7 separate regions of the Homo sapiens genome follow, and all the other regions are linked to region 1. Evidence: promoter capture Hi-C in 16 types of primary human blood cells and fetal thymus (Javierre and others, 2016). All regions are on one chromosome and are shown on one strand. The core of a region is centred on a gene start or on the middle of the fragment in contact, and the rest is flanking DNA. Distances in the headings are between cores, read along the strand shown. Region 1 holds the start of CACNB4 (calcium voltage-gated channel auxiliary subunit beta 4). Region 2 overlaps ARL6IP6 (ARF like GTPase 6 interacting protein 6). Region 3 overlaps ARL6IP6 (ARF like GTPase 6 interacting protein 6). Region 4 overlaps PRPF40A (pre-mRNA processing factor 40A). Region 5 overlaps PRPF40A (pre-mRNA processing factor 40A). Region 6 overlaps FMNL2 (formin like 2). Region 7 overlaps FMNL2 (formin like 2).

Region 1 (2,654 bases), core at 64-2,563:
GACCATGGAGTTTGGACTTTATCTTAGAGAAGAGTGACTTGGGCAAGATATTTTAGGAAAATGGTTTTGCCTGTAGTGTGTAGATGGAATGAAATCTCTGCGTGTGTATGTGTGCATGTGCATACGTGCACATGCACCAGGAAGCCTGGAGGCAAGGACATTAGTTATAAGATTGTTACAGAGGTTTGGATTAAGTGAAGGGATTAGGAATGGAAAGGAAGTGTCTGGTGGATGGTAAGATATAACCAGGACCTCAATAAAGCCAAGCAATTATTAAAACAAGCATGGTAGTTGTGTCCATAAACATAAAGTCCTAGAATGCAAGCTGATTTAGCGATTTGAGATAGTAAGTATATTTTAATTTAAACGGAGTCTCTTTATTTTTGAATTTGCATATACTTTTCTTCCCTCTTCTTATTCCTCTGTCAATACCTCGCACTTATTCTTCCTTTCCGCAATCCCTCTCTTTTAATTTGATCACAAATTAATCTCTTGTATGTATTTACAGGAGGAAACCAATGGCAAACGTTGTGTATGGTTGCAAGGATGAGTTTCTCCCCCTTGAAAATATCCATTCGCATAGAAATGGGAGGCACAGTGACCAACTCTTGCTTCTTAGCAGGTCTAACATGACCTTCAAAACTCCGTAGGACATACTGGTCTTTGGCGGGGCAGCATCTCCCGTCAGACTCAGGCTGGCTGGGTTTCTCACAGCTGCCTGGATGTGTGTGACTCGCAGCTCTAAGGACAGAATTGCCAAAGCAATACAAAAACACGGACGAAAAGCAAGCCACAAAACCCCATGCCTTACACATTAGGCTGATGAGTGAAGTCGCGGAAGGTGGCTCTGCTCTTGCCCTTTTAAAATTCCAGTGCAGCAAACACACACACACACACCCGCTCGGTTCTTCCCATTCCCGCCACACTGCACCAGCTTCCGTCCCCAAGTCCTGATTCATGAACCGTGCCACCTTTGTCTCATTTTAAACTGTGCAGACTATTTTAATCTTGCCACCCCCATCCCAGATTTCCCCCTCCCTTCATCCTCTGGAAGCTCTGATGTAAAGCGCTTGCTAGGTGGGAGAGCGCTTCTCCCAATCCGCTCGGGTAGGCGAGTTTCCGAGAAGCCCCCTCCCCGGGACCCCGCCGCGAGCGCGGGGGAAGCGCCTCGGTCCCTTTAAGGTGCCGCGCTCTCCGAAGTGCGGGCAGGGAGCCTGGGCGCCGGCGCGGGTCCTGGAGCCGGGTGGGGAAGTCCTGCGCCCTCCCCCTCCGTCCGCAGCCCAGCCTCGGGGGCCAGCCCCCTCCGCCCACCGCACACGGGCTGGCCATGCGGCGGCTCTGAACGATGTCCTCCTCCTCCTACGCCAAGAACGGGACCGCGGACGGGCCGCACTCCCCCACCTCGCAGGTACCGCCCCCTCCTCCCCCTTCTCCTCTTCCTCCTCTTCCTTCCTCACACCTCCTCCGCCGCCCTAGCGCGCCCCGCCTTCGTGCCGGGCGTGCGGGGCCCCAGTCCCGGGAGTCGGCGGCCCCGCTCCCCCCACCCCTCCTCCACGTCCCTTTCTCCTCCCGCTCCTCCTCTTTCTCCTCCTTCTCTTCCTCCTCCTCCTCACCCTCCTTCGGGTCTCTGCGCTCCCGCTCCGGAGCCCGCAGCCTCCCCCAGCGGATGCCGGGGACTCGGACCCCGCACCCTGAGAGTCTTTGTTAATGGATGTGGTGGGTGCTTGCGGGCTGCTCTTCTCGAGCATCTTTTCAGCAGTCGAGGCTTGCAGTGGGTGGGTGGGGGTGGGGGCTGTATTTGGGAGTCGCGGAGGAGACTTGGGTGCGGGCTCTAGGGGACCCCAGGGAGCGGGTCCGGAGGCGGACTCCAGCCGGGGGTGGTCGCCCCGCTCTGCGCTGCGGTCCTCACCGGCTTCTCTCTGGCCCCCGTGTGTCGAGTCCAGGTGGCCCGAGGCACCACAACCCGGAGGAGCAGGTTGAAAAGATCCGATGGCAGCACCACTTCGACCAGCTTCATCCTCAGACAGGTATGAGAAGGAGGCGGGAGACCAGGATGGGGAGGAGGCCGAGCGCGCGGCGCGGGGGTCCTGGAGCCGGCCGTGGCCCACACGTGCGGGAGCTGCGGGTCAAGCCCGCGCGCGTCTCTTCCCGGCCTCGGCCGGTGCTCGGGCTCAGTCCCTCTCCCTCTAGCCTGGGCTCTTGACGTCTTCGCGTCCCGGCGTCTCCGCACCGCCCCGGGAAGTTAGTTTGTGCATGTGTGTGGACAGTTCGGTGGGGACCTGGCTTAAGTCAGGGACGTTGAATTTAAGAGCTGGAAATATGTCTGGTTGTATCTTTGGTGCGTGGAGAAATGTCTTTAATTCGTATAACTCGACCTAGAGTAACCAGACCCCTCGGGGCCGGGGACCTGGTTTGATTCGAGTTGAGATTTAGTGGTTTCTTCTGTTTTGTCCTAATTTGAATACTCTTATCTGTCTGGATCTTGGGAGAGATCGTCAAGCTCCGGTCAAAAGAAAGACACTGAGCAGAAAGTTTACTCTCACTTTAGGACCGCTTCTTGGATTCGCTTAGTTAGGGAAAGACAGCTGTATCTGGTTAAATAGGAATTAACGAAGGCCAGCACTCAGCTCCGGGTCTGGGTGCGCCTTCACTTC
Region 2 (2,654 bases), core at 84-2,583, 650 kb before region 1:
TAGAGATACGGTTTTGCCATGTTGCCCAGGCTTGGTTTCAGTTTTGTTCAGTTTCATCATGGAGTCTACTATGGATTCCAAAATGGTTCTTATTATTGCAGGTCATGACTTTTTATTTCCATACTCTGAAGCAGGAAAACACTGTTAGGCAAATGGTAACAGAAGGGTAGAGGGGTTTGAAAAGACTGAATAGAGAATATGTAATTTTTATTCATTGGTTCTTCTACAATTTCATGAAGAGAAAGATAAGGGAAAGGAAAGGACCTAATCCCAGAAGAATAAGCCTGATCAGAAGCAACTTACCTTTATTACGTAATTTAGATCAATAAAGCAAAATGACTATAATTTCTGAAATTCTGTGTAATAGTCTAACATGGTGATGGGAATATAAATTAATATAGCCATTATGGAAAACAGTATGAAGTTTCTCAAAAATCTAAAAATGAAACTACCATATAATCCAGCAATTCCACTACTGGGTATTTACCCAAAGAAAGGACAATCAGTATATTCAAGAGATATGTGTACCCCATGTTTACTGCAGCACCATTCACAATAGTCAAGATATGGACTCAATCTAAGTGTCCATCAACAGATGAATGGATAAAGAAAATGTGGTACATATACACAACAGAATACTATTCAGCCATTAAAAAAAAATGAAATACTGTCATTCCTGGCAACATGGATGAGTCTGGGGGACATTAAGTGAAATAAGTCAGGCATAAGAAGATAAATATCACATGTTCTCACTCACATGTGTAAGCTTAAAAAAAATGAGCTCATAGAAGTAGAAGGTAGAACTGTGGTTATTCGAGGTTGAGAAGGGTGGTGGGGTAGCCGGGGAAGAAACAGCAGTGGGTGGGGTGAGAGAGGATAGCAGGAGGTTAGTTAACGGATACAAAATTACGATCAGATAGGAGGAATGACTTCTAGTGTTCTATAGCACTTTAGGGTAAATATGGTTAACAGTAACTTATTGCGTATTTTCAGAAAGCTTTAAGAGAAGATTTTGAATGCTCACAATACAAAGAAATGATAAATGTTTTCAGTGATGGATATGCTAATTAGCCTGATTTGATCATTACACATTGTATGGGACTATCATTCATTCTGTATTCCACTAATGAATATGATTATTATGTGTCAACTAAAAATAAAAAAAAAGTCAAACGTGGGAAACTTGATCAGATAAAAATTAAAAAATTTCCATTCAAGTAAAACTACAGCATTATTTATTATTAATACTGCCAAACTTCAAAAGTGGGTAGTAGATAAAACTGCATTACTGAATGAGGTAAAAGAAAAAAACAAGAAAAAAAATCCCACGGTTTCATGGCAACATCATAGAAATGTTTCACTTTGAAGACCTTCCATTTTACTTCAAAATTTACAAGGCTTATATATTTTTGAAAATGGCATGACTATTTGTGGAGATGTTACTACAATTATTATTTGCATATACGAATGTGACAGGTTAAAACAAATTCACAAAGAAATTCTAAGTTGCTGACATTCTCTCCATGTACTTAAATACATTGCACAGATGAATTTTCCTAAAACATTCCTTTGCTTTAAAATGCTTTTGTGTTAACTGGATATAAAATGTAAACGAGCAGAGCACACAATATTATTAACAAGGTTAAGTTTCCTTAATGATACAAGCTTTAACCCAGGTTTTAAAAGGTACAGCAATGGACTGACAGACAAAAGAGGTACATTGTGTAAAGGGAAAGAAAAGAACCAGAAGTGGAACTCCAACTTAAGATTTCATGCTTCTCAGGAGAAAAACTGGACCAGATGAACCTAAGGTCGCTTCTATTTCCTTCCATTTCCTTCCTTCCGCCCTCCCTCCCTTCCTTTCTCTCTCTCTCTCTCTTTTTTTTTTTTTTTGGACAGAGTCTTGCTCTGTCACCTGGTCTGGAGTGCAGTGGTGTGATCTTGGCTCACTGCAACCTCCGCCTTTCAGGTTCAAACGATTCTCATGCCTCAGCCTTCCAAGTAGCTGGGGTCACAAACACACGTGTCACCATGCCCAGCTAATTTTTGTATTTTTAGTAGAGATGGGGTTTCACCATGTTGGCCAGGCTGGTCTGGAACTCCTAACCTCAGGTGATCCACCCAGCACTCCCAAAGTGCTGGGATACAGGCGTGAGCCACTGCGCTCGGTCTCAGTTCTACATTTCTGTAAGTATCCCAGGTAGCAAGAAATAATCCTAAAAAACACCTCAAAAAGATTATGTACAGTTTTTTACCTATTAAAACAGGTTATTGGTCAACATTACCTGTACTTAAAACTAGAACAATGATGCAGAGGATATAAATATTTTAGTCCCAAAGAGTCAATTAAGGAGACCTATCTATGATGAAAATTAATGGATATAATTTAACCTGCTAAATCAACATTGTTAAGATGTGACTCTTCATTTGACCATATGAAAGAATAAGTAGTAAAATAGAGTACCCAATGGCAAAACCAGAACGTTTCTTTAGATCTACTTCCATATCCTGAAAGATAAGCTATATAGAAGGTATGACCTTTTTCTGGTTCTAGAGAATTCCTTTCAATAATAAAAAATTCTACAATGAAGTACTTATGTAGTCCCTGATAGTGGTTAAGAGTTCAAGCTCTATGATTAGATAAACACGGGTCT
Region 3 (2,654 bases), core at 102-2,601, 630 kb before region 1:
TCGGTGAAAGCCTTTGCTTTAATTGTTGGAATCTTTCCTGGTGAGATTAAATTACTTACGTAACTAATGCATTTTATGATACTAACAATGAAAATACAATACAATCATACACTGATGACAGGGATATGTTCTGAGAAATGCATCATTAGGTGATTTCGTTGTTGTTTGTACATCACAAGAGCGTACTTACAAAAACCTAGGTATATAGCCTACTACACACCTATGAGCTATACAGTTATATCCTATTATTCCAATGCTACAGACCTGTGCGGCATGTTACTATACCAAATACTGCACGCGACTGTAATACAACAATAAGTACTTGTGTATCTGAACATACTTAAATATAGAAAAGGTACAGTAAAAATACAGTGTAAAAGATAAAATATGGTACACCTGTATAGGGTACTTACAATGAATGGAGCTTACAGGACAAAGAGTTGCTCTGGGTCAATCAGTGAGCGAGTGACTGATGAGTGAAGGTGAAGGCCAAGGACACTACTGTCCACTACAATAGACTATTATAAACACTGTACACTTAGGTTACGCTAAATTAAAAAATTTTTCTCTTCATTAATAAATTAACCTTAGCTTACTGTAACTTTCTTACTTTATAAATTTTAAAATTTAACTTTACCCTTTTCTACTAACAGTTTAAAACAAAAGGACACTGTACAGCTGTGCAAAAATGTTTTTTCTTTATACCATTACTCTATAAGCTTCTATTTCTAATTTTTTAGTTTTTAAACTTCTTTGTTGAAATCTAAGACACACACACATTAGCCTAGGCCTACATAGGGTCAAGGTAATATCACTGTTTTTCACTGTCACATCTTTTTCCACTGAAAGGTCTTCAAGGGCAACAACATGCATGAAACTGTCATCTCCTATGACAACAATGCCTTCTTCTGGGATACCTCCTGAAGGACCTGCCTGAGGCTGTTTTACAGTCAACTTTTTTTAAGCAGAAGTAATATAATCTAAAACAATAAGAAGCATAGTAAATACATAAACCAGTAACATAATTGTTTATCAAGAATTATGTTATGTACTGCACGTAATTGTGCTGTATTTTTTTTTATGACTGGAAGGTTATATAAAACTAGATTGGTAATAGGTTGGTTTATACCAGCATCAACACCAACATGTGAGCAATATATTGTACTACCAAGTTAGGACAGTTGCAATGCCACTAAATAGGAATTTTTCAGCTCCACTGTAATCTTATGGGACCACCATCATACAGGCATATATGCAGACCACTGTTGACCAAAATGGTATGTGGTGTATGGCTGTACTTAGCTAACTTTAAAAGTTGTAAAAACTATTACCAGCTGGCTACTAATAAAACTTAGATGTATCATATGCATGAAACTAACCATCAATTTTTAAATGTTTATGTAAGCAAATGTTCTCAACTTTATTAGATTCTATAGTTTTCTAACTTGAGAGGATGACCATTATTTTAAATAATTTGGTATCCTCTCTAAATCACATTCTATAGATAGCTCAAGTCTTTAAATCCCTAGAGCAAAGTGTCTCTTTACACGTCAAAGCCAAGTGCAGGAGCAGAGGAAAGTGCTCTCTCCTCTCCTGCCAATGCAACATGAGCATAGTGGGTGCAGAGTGCATGGTAGCTATAGCAGTTACACTGGTTAAGGCCTTCACCCAATCGCCCGACCACCTGCAACCCAGACTGTAGCATTTCTACATCTTTCTGTTGAAACAGATGAGGAAGGTGATCCTCTGACAGATTAAGTGACTGAAATTTCAAAAATAAATAACACCTGTAGTTCCCAACATTGGTAAATCATTAGATTCACATGGGAAAATTAAAAAAAAAACCCAACACTTTTATTACAGATCATTTCAAACACAGGAAAAAGTTGAGAGAAGTATATAAAACTCATATACCCATCATCCAGCTTTAAACAATTAATTCATGGGCAATCCTGTTAAATTTATATTCTCCTCTGAAGCTTGTAATCTTCAGTATAACAGGGAAAACAGTCATCAATATTTTTATCATATAAGTCCAAAGAGGCTTTTTTATTTCCTTTATTTTCATGACACTTGAAGAATAATTTAGAGAGCAAAAAGACAGCAGGAAAAAAACTTTGTTAAAAATTTTCATAAGAAATAAATACAGCAAATCCGAATTTCAATTCCCAGTTTCCCTAAAGTCATGTACACCAAAAATGGGCACGACCTGAGTGCAAATAATTGCTTACTAACTTCATGTATGAATCTACAACATATCCATCTTGTAAATACCACTTCCAGATTTCAGATACATCTCAAATTGGTTACAGCTTGTCATTATTCCTGCTTTTTTTTTTTGCACTTGCGTCATTAAAACACAATGTTTGAAGGAATTTTTAAGCCTTTCATGGCTTATTTTGACGAAAAGAGGACAACAATCTTCTTTGCTCCATAATTTGTAACATATTTTCATTTTTAGATTACAAACAATTCAAATGGTCAACCCAATAATTCTTTTTTGCATTTTTTTTTCCAAATCACCTTTGTATACACATCTGCCCTTAGCATCTGTCCACTTACAAACAGTATCAAATAAATTAGGATGCAGACCTCATAAAAGATGAAAAAAATACTTAAAGTCTTAGGAAAGTCTTACTGGAATCCTAATTCCA
Region 4 (2,654 bases), core at 107-2,606, 590 kb before region 1:
CAAAGTACAGTTTATATCAGGGTTTACTGTTAATATTGTACATTCTATATATTTTGACAAATGTATAATGAATATGTATGTATCAGCCCTTGCAGTATCACACAGAATAGTTTCATTGCTCTAAAAATTGGTGCTCTGCCTATTCATTTCTTCCTCTTCTACTCCAGCAACCATTGTTTTTGTTTGTTTGTTTGTTTGTTTTTCTGCCTCCGTAGTTTTGCTTTTCTAAGAATTTCATATAGTTGGAATCATACAGTATGTAGCCTTTTCAGATTGGCTTGTTTTACTTAGTAATATGCATTTAAGTTTCCTCCATTGTCTTTTTATGGCTTGATACTTCATTTCTTTTTCTCACTGAATAATACTCATTATCTGGATGTACCACATCCAGATCCATTATGTACTGAAGAACGTTTTGGTTGTTCCCAAGATTTGGTCATTATGAGTAAAGCATCCATGTGCAGGTTTTCTGTGTGAACGTAAGTTTTCAGCTAATTTGGGTAGATATTAATAACGAGGAGCACTATTGCTGGATTGTGTTGTAAGAGTATGTTTAGTTTTGTTAAGAAACCTTGAAATTGTCTTCCAAAGTGGCTGCACCACTCTGAATTCCTAACAGCAATGAATGAGAATTTCTGGTATACCACACCTTCACCAACATTTGATAATATCAGTGTTTTGGACTTTTGCCATTTTAGTAGGTGTGTAATGTATCTTGCTTTAATTTGTGGCTAATTATATGTGATGTGGAGCATCTTTTTATTTGCCATCCTTACATCTTTGGGAAAGTGTTTCTTTGGATCTTTTGCCTATTTTTTAATCAGATTGTTTTATTATTGTAGAGTTTTGAGATAACAGGTTTTTATCATATTAAGTCTTTTGCAACTATTTTCTCCAAGTTTGTGGCTTATCTTCTCATTCTTCAGACTATCTTTAACAGAGCAGAAGTTTCTAACTTTAATGAAAACTAAATCTGTTCTTTCAGCCTATCAATTATTTCATGGATTGTATCTTTGGGGAACTTTTTTTTTTATGAGCTATCCTTATTGCATTATGATCAGAAAGTACAGTCTGTAAGATGTAAAGTTCTTTACAGTTTATTAAAGCTTCATGTATGTTCTTGTTCAGGGCTAGTTTTTAAGAATATTCTGTGTGCTATATAAAGTTACTTTGTTATTCCTGCATCTTGGCATGTCTTTCATCTGCTTGGATCTACATAAGAAGATAGTGAATTAAAATCTTTAACTAGAAAAGATGAGTCATCTGTTTCTCCCTGTATTTTTCTGTTGCCTGTCTGAATTTCAAGGTTAAATTGCCATATGCATATGTGTTTAGGATAATTTTTGATCTGTTACTTTTTACCAGTATATAGTCTCCCACTTTTCCATTATGATTTTTGTTTTAAATTCTGTTTAGGTAAGGTAAATAGGTACCCTATTTTTAAAGTTTCTGTTTGCATTGTAAAAATGTATTACAAGCCTGGAAAACAAAGTGAGACCCTGTCTCTACAAAAAATAAAAAATTAGCCCAGCATAGTGGTGTGTATCTGTAGTCCCAGCTACTCAGGAGGCTCAGGAGGGAGGATCTTTTGAGCCCAGAAGCTTGAGGCTGCAGTGAGCTGTGATCTTGCCACTGCACTCCTGCCTGGGCAACAGAGTGAGACCCTTTCTCAAAAAAAAAAAAAAGAAAAAGTTGTTACATTGTGAGTACAGTATTTTTCCTATTTTTATTTTAACCTGGTTATCGTCTATTCAGATTATTTTGTGTATTTGTCTTGTAACCAATGACATTACCAGATTTCCTTATCAATTCAAATAGTATTTTAAAACTGTAACTAGATTTCACTGGAATTTTATATGTGTAAAAATAGCAGTAAAGGCAAGAGAACTTTACTTCTCCAAAATTTACACCAGTAATTTCATTTTATTGCTGTGGTATATTTGCTAGAATTTTAGTGATTCCAGGCATGTTTTTGTGATTTTAATGGAAGTGGCTTTAGGGTGATAACTGATTGCCTTTTAATCATTTAGGTTTTTTATTTCTTAAATTATTTCATTTGAGCATTTTGCTTTTATTTTTTTATTTTTTGAATACTTGTGAACTTAGTTTTCTGGGTGTGATTTGATCATACAAAGTTTAATAGTGGGATCACGTGTTTTTTTTTTTTTTCATTTGATTAGATAGTGGAAATAATTTCTTCTGTAGATTTTCTAATATTGAACTACTCTTGCACTTCTACAGTAAATTCTGCTTGGTCAGAGTGTGTATGTTGTTAAATTTAAATTCATGATGCTCTTCTGGTATCTTTTCTGCTTCTTGTTAATTAATGGAGAGCATTTCATCTTTTTTTCCCCATAATCTGAAATCATGATGTAACATTGCAATTCTGTGTTCTTTAAAGGTTGTATAACATTCTGCTGTGAAACCATCTGGTTTTGTATCTTTCTGTTGTGTCTGTGTTGTTGGGATGTTCAAGTGTGATGTGCTTTTTCTGGGGTCAATTTTGGTTAAGTGATTTGCTTGGAAATCATTTTCTCTAGGTTTTGATTGGTTGTAAATCTGTATCTGTGATTGTATTTTTCCTCAATTCTGTTTATTATTTGGCTTTTTCTTTTTTTTTTTTTTTGAGACAGAGTTTTGCTCGTTACCCAAGC
Region 5 (2,654 bases), core at 93-2,592, 570 kb before region 1:
TCCCTACTAAAAATACAAAATAATAATAATAATAATTAGCCGGGTGTGGTGGTGCATGCCTGTAGTCCCAGCTACTCAGGAGGCTGAGGTGGGAGAACCTGAGCCCAGGAGGTCAAGGCTGCAGTGAGCTGCGATGGTGCCACTGCACTCTAGACTGTGCAAAAGAGCGAGATCCTGTCTCCAAAAAAAAAAATTATTCGCGCTATGCCAAAGGTTACTGTGTTAAACGTCACAGCCAGTAGAAAGATTTCAGTCCTTATTCAATGAAAACTTAACATTTACTACTCTTGATAGGTTCCTTTATCTTAGTGACTTTCTAGACTTGATCATGTTCTACAACGGTTAAAAACACAAATTGTTTAGCCTTACCTGAAGAATTTGAATTAGTAAGTCTGGGGTGGAGTCTGAAAATTTCATTTCTAAATTTCCAGGTGATATTGATACTGTTGGACCATAGTTTGAGAACCAGTGCGCTAGCATGTTAACCTTCTCTGCAGAGTTAGGGGTATGCTGCCCCCATTTCACATTTTAACTTGGAAAAAGTAGAAAGAACAGTTCTTCTTAAAGCTAATGATGTAGAAGTTCTGCTCACCTCCTTCATTTGGGTTCAGTTGCTGAGAATTTAGTCACAGGGCCACAACTAGCTACACAAAGGAGGCTAGAAAACTTAGCTTTTAGCTAAGCAGCCATGTGCCCAGAAAGAAGGGGAGGACAGATTCTTAGGAGGGCTATTATACACTCTTCCACAACTTAAGCTTTAATGTCTCTGATGAAGGTTTTGCAGTGGTTTAAAATAAGGAGACATATATGAAAAAATAATAATACAGTGAAAATAAGGTCTGGGTCATAGAAAATACGAGACTATAATGTAAACAATATTGAAGATGGAGACTGTGAGGCAAAATTTTGATGTGAAGGCTGTTACGGTTCCTTAAATAAGCTTAAATGTGGCTTTGAATCAGATTGCTATGTGTCTGGCATAGTTTCTGATTACTACTAATATAATTGGTGTTAAGTATGTTGTATTAATATTCTTTCAGATATTCAGCCTGGTAATTTTCCTGTTGTGCTATTTCAAAAGATTTATTTAGGACTTTAGTGAAATGAATTAAAAGAGAAGATTGGCATTAGACAATAAAAGATCATTAATGGAGAGCTTCTCAGTAGTTATGATTATGATGATGACTAGCTTTTTATTTAGTGTTCATTTGCTAATCAGAAAATTCATCATGTCTGTGACAAGGAAACTATGATCTTGTTTTTCTTATGTCTTAAAACTGGTATTTGAAGTCAGTTTTGTCTGGAAAGGATTGATCTGAGGCTTTCAAGGAGAACCAGAGGAATGTATAGTGTCTCAGAAGCCAAGAGTTTGGAATTTTAAGATAGAGCATGATCCCCAAATGCACAGAATCAGTATCACCTGGGAAATTATGAAAATGCATATTCTCAAACTCCACGTCAGACTTACAGAATCAGATTCTGGAAATGGGACCTAACAATATGATTTTTTTAAACAGTCCTTCAAATGAGTCTTTGAGAAACCCCTGAGGTAAAGGAATCCACCTAAAGTAACATGTTAAGAAATTTTTATGGAATGAGGACTGAAAGAATACTGTTAAGGGTGGCATTTAAGGTGTTAAGAGTGGCATTTAAGGTGTTTAGTGACCATTGGCATGGTAGGGAAAGTTAAAGGTCTGCCAAATAGTTGAAAGATATTCAATAAGGTAAAATTCAAATAAGCTTGCAGTTAAGAGAAAGGCTTTTCTTGGGTAAGAGGAAACCAGTTAAGAGGGAGAGAATGAAGGAAGAATTGAAAAATAAGGGTGAGTCTCATTAAACAACATCTCGGAAAGTTGGGAATTCAAGCATATATATGAATACAGTTACATTGAGAACAGTATATAAGAGAACAAAAAGAAGGATGAAGATGGAGAAAAATTAATACCGATTTGGATCTAAGACAGTGGTGCTCAACCAAGAAAGATTTTGTGATTGTCACTATTTGTGGGGAACATGCTACTGGCATCTAGTGTGTAGAGGCGAGAGATGCTGATAAACATCCTGCAATGTACAGGGCTCAAACATACCCCGCCCTCAACCAAGAGAAAGAAAGAAAAAAAAATTACGTCATCCAAGATGTCATTAGTGCCACGGGAAGAAGAAACATCAAGCTCAGCCATCTTTGAAGCAACTTGCTTTCCATAATGTAAAAGGCAAGGCTTTTTCACCCCTAAAATGGGGCAAGTAAAATAGAATAAGAACCATACAGTTTTGTCAGAGTGGTTTTCAAACCTGAATTCACATCAGTCATCTAATATTCCAAATATCTGGATATTAATTCATATTGCTTTAAAAAAATATTCCTCAGGTGATTCTTTCAGGTTAGGGATCCACTATTGAAATAATTTCAGTCTCACAGTTCTTTGACTTTATCAGACAGATCTCACCAGTCTGGAAGTGTAAGAAACACTAGCAAAACAGGTATGATAGAGTGAGGTAAGTTCTAAGGTACTAGAGCATCACTAAAGATGGTTTCCAAACTATTTTAGATACTCAGGGAGCAAGTGAGGAAGCTGGTGAGCACAACAAGAGTGGTTAAGACAAAATTCCATTTATGTTGAAGGGTAAGGGTAGTTGACAGAAGGGTAGATACA
Region 6 (2,654 bases), core at 72-2,571, 550 kb before region 1:
AGACCTTGTCTAACAAACAAAATGTGGATTATGGAGCGAGTATAAGAAATGTATCATCTATTTATTTTCCAGTGTAAAATCACCTTATTCTACAGAGAAGATTCCAGTATGTTGAACCAAAGCAGAGTCAGTGATGGGTATCAAGCCCTATTCTATTGAGAGCAGAGTTGAGTCAGGATGGCCACTGGGCACTGCAGTGAATTTCAGTGTTAGATGATGGGGAGTGGGGAACGTGAGTATTTAATTCAAAGTCATTGGTAAATACCTTTTAAAAGAAAGATGAATGTTACTCTATCTGCCTCATTTGAACTTAACTGCTGTAGTTGAGTTTGAAAACATTCTGAATTTGTGGAATATTAAAAGATTTTTCTTTTACCATTAGGCACCAGTCTGATGGTAAAACAAAAGTAGAGATCCTTACTGATCGCAAGACTTTTTCTCTCATAAAATAAAGCTTCTAACACATTGTATAACTGGTTTAGTGGAAAGTGCACTGAATTGCGAACAAAAGACCTAAGGCTTTATTATAGGCATTTATTAGATTGCACCCTGGGCAAGTCAGTTTGCTGAGTCAGTTTCCCAATGTGCACAACAGTGTTAAATACCTCACAGGCTTCTTGTGAGGAATAAAGATTATTGCCTTTAATCTGTAAGCAGTTGTGTGTGACAAATGCAAAGTACGCTGTGGTAGTTGTGACAATAATTATATAAATTATAATTCCTTAAATGACTATAATATATATGCCTCTAAATTTAAGCCACTTGAAAGGTATTCTAAAATTTAAAATTTTTCTTGTTTCCATAAAAAGAACATATGAAATGTTACACATAAACTTTTGATGACTGGGAGTTTTATTACAACTGTTTGTGCAATGGGGGCCAAACTGCTTGTTTGCCTTGCCAACTGGTATGGTTATTGGGTGCAGGGTTAACTATGCAGTTAATATATAGCCTATTATCTTTATTTGTACAACATCCTAATTGTAACATTTGGTGGGGCTGCTGGGGGCGTTGTGGCATTTCACCAAACAAAGGTGCTGTTTACCTAGAAGGTGTATGTTTATAAATGCAATTTTGGAGATGTAGTCTCACTTCCAAGATCCATTGTCTATGTTTTATATAGCAAGCGGTCAAGAGTTCACATAGGGAGGAATCCTTCCTGACGTTTACCAAGTATATTTGGATTCTGAGTTCAAATAGCAAGATATATTTGTTTCTAGAAGGTAAGTCTACATAATATTGCTAAAACCCCCTAAATTGTACCATTGAAAGATTACAACATATTACAGAATAGTAGTGTAAATAGTTTATTATTTGCTCATATGCCATGAAAAGACCAGAAAAGTAACATGAATTGCTTTTATAAAACATTCTAATATTGCTAAGAAGCAGGCCCATTAATAGACAAACAGAAAAGAACATGCCAACGTTGTCTATTTGTAGATTAATAAATAGGCAATTATTTTAATATACATATATGTCAGCATTGAACTTTGGAAAACAGCTGCTTTGTAGTGGAAGTCCAACTTGGTCAAATTGCTATTTTTAATCGAAGTGAATGTTGAGTCCACAGAAAGACAAAATCGTGGCATGTTCTTTTTAAAGTAAAGTACACATTTATGGGAATGTGCCCGCAGGTGGCAGTTTAATCTTTCTGTAAATAGGTACACTAAAGTGAAATGTGGTAGGTAACTTGTTCCCTAAACTGTCCTTATAGTTAAATATATATATTAAAAAAAACTATAAGTTAAAATAACATTCAGATTGTATAGCATAGGCTGATGCATTTTAAAACAATATTTACAATATTACCCAGAGGCTTAGGTGGGAATTAAAGAGAAGTGTAAAAACCATAAAAAACTGCACCGATTTTATAGCAAAATATCTGTACATTTAAAAAGATCATATAACTACACATCCAAGGAAAAGGGACCTTCACCAAGGGGTTCACATAAGCACAACATAAAATAGGAACTTCAGCGGTTAAATACTATACAATAAACTTTACAATTAATATATTGATGTACCAAGAAGATAAGCCAGAAGCAGAATGTATATTATGAAAAGTACAAATTTAGCTTCAGTCCAGTTTTTGACTTTGGAATGGATCAAGTGCCCTGCCAGAGAGGAAGGAAAATAACAGTGGCTTAGTGGGCCATCTAGTCCCATTACGTATTATTTAAGCTTAATACCATGTTAATACTTTTCAGCAACTTAAACTGCAATTCTCCATAAGTAGTCTGGGAAATGCATGAAAAACTTAGCCTCGATACACGATGCCAAGTGTATCTTCTTGAATTTATAAAAAATAAGAAAAAATTGCGATTGTCAGAGGAGAGTAAGGCCAGGTTCCTAACACTACTCTGCTAGCAGATGTAACCTTGAATGCTTGTTGATAGAGCTAGTAAACTTCCTTGCAAGGCACCAATTTCTGTTCTCAGAATTAATAATGGTCCTCAGAAATGCTAATGCTGATTACTGAGATGTTAATTTTAATGCTAATAAATACACTTGCATTATTTAAAAAGCTGCCTCTAGCTGAAGAACACAGTACTGCAAATAAGTCTTATACACTATATCCCCACATTCATACTAGTGAATGCCTCTCACAGAGCATCGTTCTCTAGCGCAGAAGTAGTAGAATGTGAAACTGG
Region 7 (2,654 bases), core at 49-2,548, 530 kb before region 1:
CTGTCTAAAAAAAAAAAAAAAGAAGAGCACAGATTGCAATGGACATGCAAATTGTTGTAATACAGTATGAGAAATCTTGTACGAGAGGGTAGACCAGAGTGTTCTTTAGTGAGAACACAGAAGCAGCAGCCATTTACCATGGCTGAGTTAGAGAAGGCCTCACCCTCCAAAATTCCAGATGCCTGAGGTACCCCACAGGAATCTGAATTTATAATAAACACTGGCTGCTTATGGTTCGATATCACAATTTGAGAATCACAGCCTATAAATGACTGTAAGGTCAATCTGCATATCATTCCTTTTGCTAATCGAATATGCTTTTGAGGGAACATGGTACATTGGATAATACACTTCATGAGAAGTAAGACCAGGTTTCTAGTCCTGTTTCTATCACTTTCTACTCATGTGACTTTGGGCAAGACATTTAACCTCGAAAAATCTCAATTTTCTCACCTATAATAATGGAGATACTATTACCTTGTACATCCCAGCTATCTTAGAGTCACAGATGATTTAAATGACAAAATGTATAACTGTCTTAGCAAAGTAGCAACCAAGAAGTGCTAATAATTTAACTAGTGTCCAGGCAAAGGCAAAATGTTTACAACTGCCACACTTGAGCAAGTAGAATGGCACAAAATCAAATTAAAAGTGTTTGTTGGGTGATGATTCTCAGATTCTCATTCTCACATTTCATACAATAGCAGCAGAATAAAAAGGGCAGTGAATAAAAGAGGGAAGGGACATGACGCTCAGTGGCCTGTGTCTTACAGAAAGGACACAGAGATCACCTTTACACCCATGTGCTCTTCTGCTCTCAGGGGTGGACAACACCACGGCCGATGTGTTCCAGCTCAGTGTGTCTGACTTCTTAGCCTTGGCTTTTTAAATGGGTTCTGAAAAGTGTTTAAGCAGGGAATGGCTCCACCACAATTAAAGGCATTAAATACCCAAGACGAACGGTAATAGCTGAAATCAAGTACCTGCAGCAGCTTTTTCCACATAATGAAGCTCATTATAAAACAGGGACACTTGGTGATATTTTTCTTTCACCACATTGGATATATAGTGCAACAGTGTTTGCTTTCTGTCTGTTGACTTTGTATCTAAGAGCTGAAAACAAAAGGGAACGTGGGTTAGGTACAAGAGTAAAGGGTAACAAGACACTTACCCCTCAGGTGACGATTTCCCACCCAGAGTCATTAACTGAGTAACAGTCGCCCAACAGGCTGGAGCATTCCCAGAGGAGGGTCAGGATTCCATTTGTTCCTTAGTGAACCAGTCCATTGATGCTTAACTGGCTCAAGGACTTTCCAACCAGGGCACATGCTTAACTATAGGGATGACTCTAAGCACCTAAGAATGATTCGCAGCTTTCCTCTACAGTAGTTCCTATTTACCCACAGGTTTACTTCCCATGGTTTCAGGAAACCCACAGGTTTCAGGTATCCAAAAATACTAAGTGGAAAATTCCAGAAATAAACAATTCATCAGATTTGAATTGCGCACCACTCTGAGCAGCATGATAAAACCTCGCACGTGCCATTCCCATCCACCCTAGACCGAGAATCACCCCTTTGTCAAGTGGATCCACGCTGTAATCATTACCTGCCATTAATCACTTAGTAGCCATCTGGGTTATCAGGTTAACTGCCGCCTATTGCAGTGTTTGTGTTCAAGTAACGTGTTTTATTTAACTGCTCTATTTTTTTTTTTTTTTTTTTTTTTGAGATGGAGTCTCGTTCTGTCGCCCAGGGTGGAGTGCAGTGGCACAATCTTGGCTCACTACAAACTCCACCTCCTGCGTTCAAGCGATTCTCCTGCCTCAGCCTCCCGAGTAGCTGGGATTACAGGTGCCTGTGACCCAAAAATTAGCCCAGCTAATTTTCCTATTTTTAGTAGAGACAGGGTTTCGCCATGTTGGCCAGGCTGCTCTCAAACTCCTGACCTCAGGTGATCCTCCCGCCTCAGCCTCCCAAAGTGCTGGGATTACAGGTGTGAGCCACCAGGCCTGGCCTATTTTATTTTTTAGTTATTGTGAATCTCTCACTGTGCCTAATTTATAAATTCAACTTTATAACAGATATGCATCTCTAGAAAAAAAACAGTGTATATATAGGATTCAGTACTATCTGAGGTTTCAGGCATCCACTGGGGGTCTTGGATCACAGCCCCCATGGATAAGGGGGACACTGATTACATGAACTCTCCCAGCCCTGCATCTGCTATCCCACCTTCCTTGCCTTAAAAGCAGGACGGCTCTAATTTTAGTGCTCTTCAAAGTAAAAAGCCAGAGGAGAAATGGGGATGTACAGCCAGCAGGTGCATGCAGGTGCCTCCTACACAGCAGGGCTCCTATGCTCCAGTTTTTACATTTAGCTTAGGCCCTCCCTTATTTCCTAGCCTGTGAAGACCTGAAACAGACATGCTTAACTGATCATGATCTGCTGGAGGCCAGAACTGTGACTGACTAGACACTCCATATTAAATAACTAGCTCCCTGGTCGGGGGACTCAACCCACTGCCCAGCCTTCTCATGTGACAATCACGTTAGGCCTGCACAGTCTGGAGGGAGTCCACGGAGGATTTTCTCTAGTCTTATTCACATTAGTTAGGTGACTCTGAAAATTAGAGCACCCTGCATGCAACAACAA

Evidence for each region. The method cuts DNA at HindIII sites, captures the fragments that hold promoters and counts their contacts. A CHiCAGO score of 5 or more calls a contact.
Region 2: a contact is called between a fragment that was not itself captured here and the fragment with the promoter of CACNB4 in region 1, in 1 of 17 cell types (total B cells). The highest score is 5.3, in total B cells.
Region 3: a fragment that was not itself captured here is called in contact with the fragment with the promoter of CACNB4 in region 1 in 1 of 17 cell types (monocytes); the score reaches 5.1 in monocytes.
Region 4: a contact is called between a fragment that was not itself captured here and the fragment with the promoter of CACNB4 in region 1, in 1 of 17 cell types (M0 macrophages). The highest score is 5.1, in M0 macrophages.
Region 5: a contact is called between a fragment that was not itself captured here and the fragment with the promoter of CACNB4 in region 1, in 1 of 17 cell types (monocytes). The highest score is 5.1, in monocytes.
Region 6: a fragment that was not itself captured here is called in contact with the fragment with the promoter of CACNB4 in region 1 in 4 of 17 cell types (neutrophils, monocytes, M2 macrophages and 1 more); the score reaches 8.0 in neutrophils.
Region 7: a contact is called between a fragment that was not itself captured here and the fragment with the promoter of CACNB4 in region 1, in 1 of 17 cell types (M1 macrophages). The highest score is 6.6, in M1 macrophages.

The regions. Positions count from the first base shown.
Region 1 is chr2:152,097,703-152,100,356 of GRCh38, reverse strand. CACNB4 (calcium voltage-gated channel auxiliary subunit beta 4) reads left to right here and starts at 1,313. Exons shown (of 14, transcript NM_000726.5): 1 at 1,313-1,408; 2 at 1,944-2,027. The coding sequence starts at 1,346. RefSeq lists a silencer at 1,115-1,404. The HindIII fragment of the contact is 7,735 bases long and covers 1-2,654 here.
Region 2 is chr2:152,749,714-152,752,367 of GRCh38, reverse strand. The region is part of intron 3 of ARL6IP6 (ARF like GTPase 6 interacting protein 6); the gene reads right to left. Among named protein-coding and RNA genes, the nearest start is that of ARL6IP6, 32 kb to the right of the region's middle. The HindIII fragment of the contact is 668 bases long and covers 1,000-1,667 here.
Region 3 is chr2:152,725,337-152,727,990 of GRCh38, reverse strand. The region is part of intron 2 of ARL6IP6 (ARF like GTPase 6 interacting protein 6); the gene reads right to left. Among named protein-coding and RNA genes, the nearest start is that of ARL6IP6, 8.0 kb to the right of the region's middle. The HindIII fragment of the contact is 1,260 bases long and covers 722-1,981 here.
Region 4 is chr2:152,685,109-152,687,762 of GRCh38, reverse strand. The region is part of intron 5 of PRPF40A (pre-mRNA processing factor 40A); the gene reads left to right. Among named protein-coding and RNA genes, the nearest start is that of PRPF40A, 31 kb to the left of the region's middle. The HindIII fragment of the contact is 495 bases long and covers 1,109-1,603 here.
Region 5 is chr2:152,665,530-152,668,183 of GRCh38, reverse strand. The region is part of intron 16 of PRPF40A (pre-mRNA processing factor 40A); the gene reads left to right. Among named protein-coding and RNA genes, the nearest start is that of PRPF40A, 51 kb to the left of the region's middle. The HindIII fragment of the contact is 800 bases long and covers 943-1,742 here.
Region 6 is chr2:152,648,464-152,651,117 of GRCh38, reverse strand. FMNL2 (formin like 2) reads right to left here. Exons shown (of 26, transcript NM_052905.4): 26 at 1,292-2,654. Among named protein-coding and RNA genes, the nearest start is that of PRPF40A, 68 kb to the left of the region's middle. The HindIII fragment of the contact is 1,730 bases long and covers 457-2,186 here.
Region 7 is chr2:152,630,467-152,633,120 of GRCh38, reverse strand. FMNL2 (formin like 2) reads right to left here. Exons shown (of 26, transcript NM_052905.4): 21 at 984-1,113. Among named protein-coding and RNA genes, the nearest start is that of PRPF40A, 86 kb to the left of the region's middle. The HindIII fragment of the contact is 5,734 bases long and covers 1-2,654 here.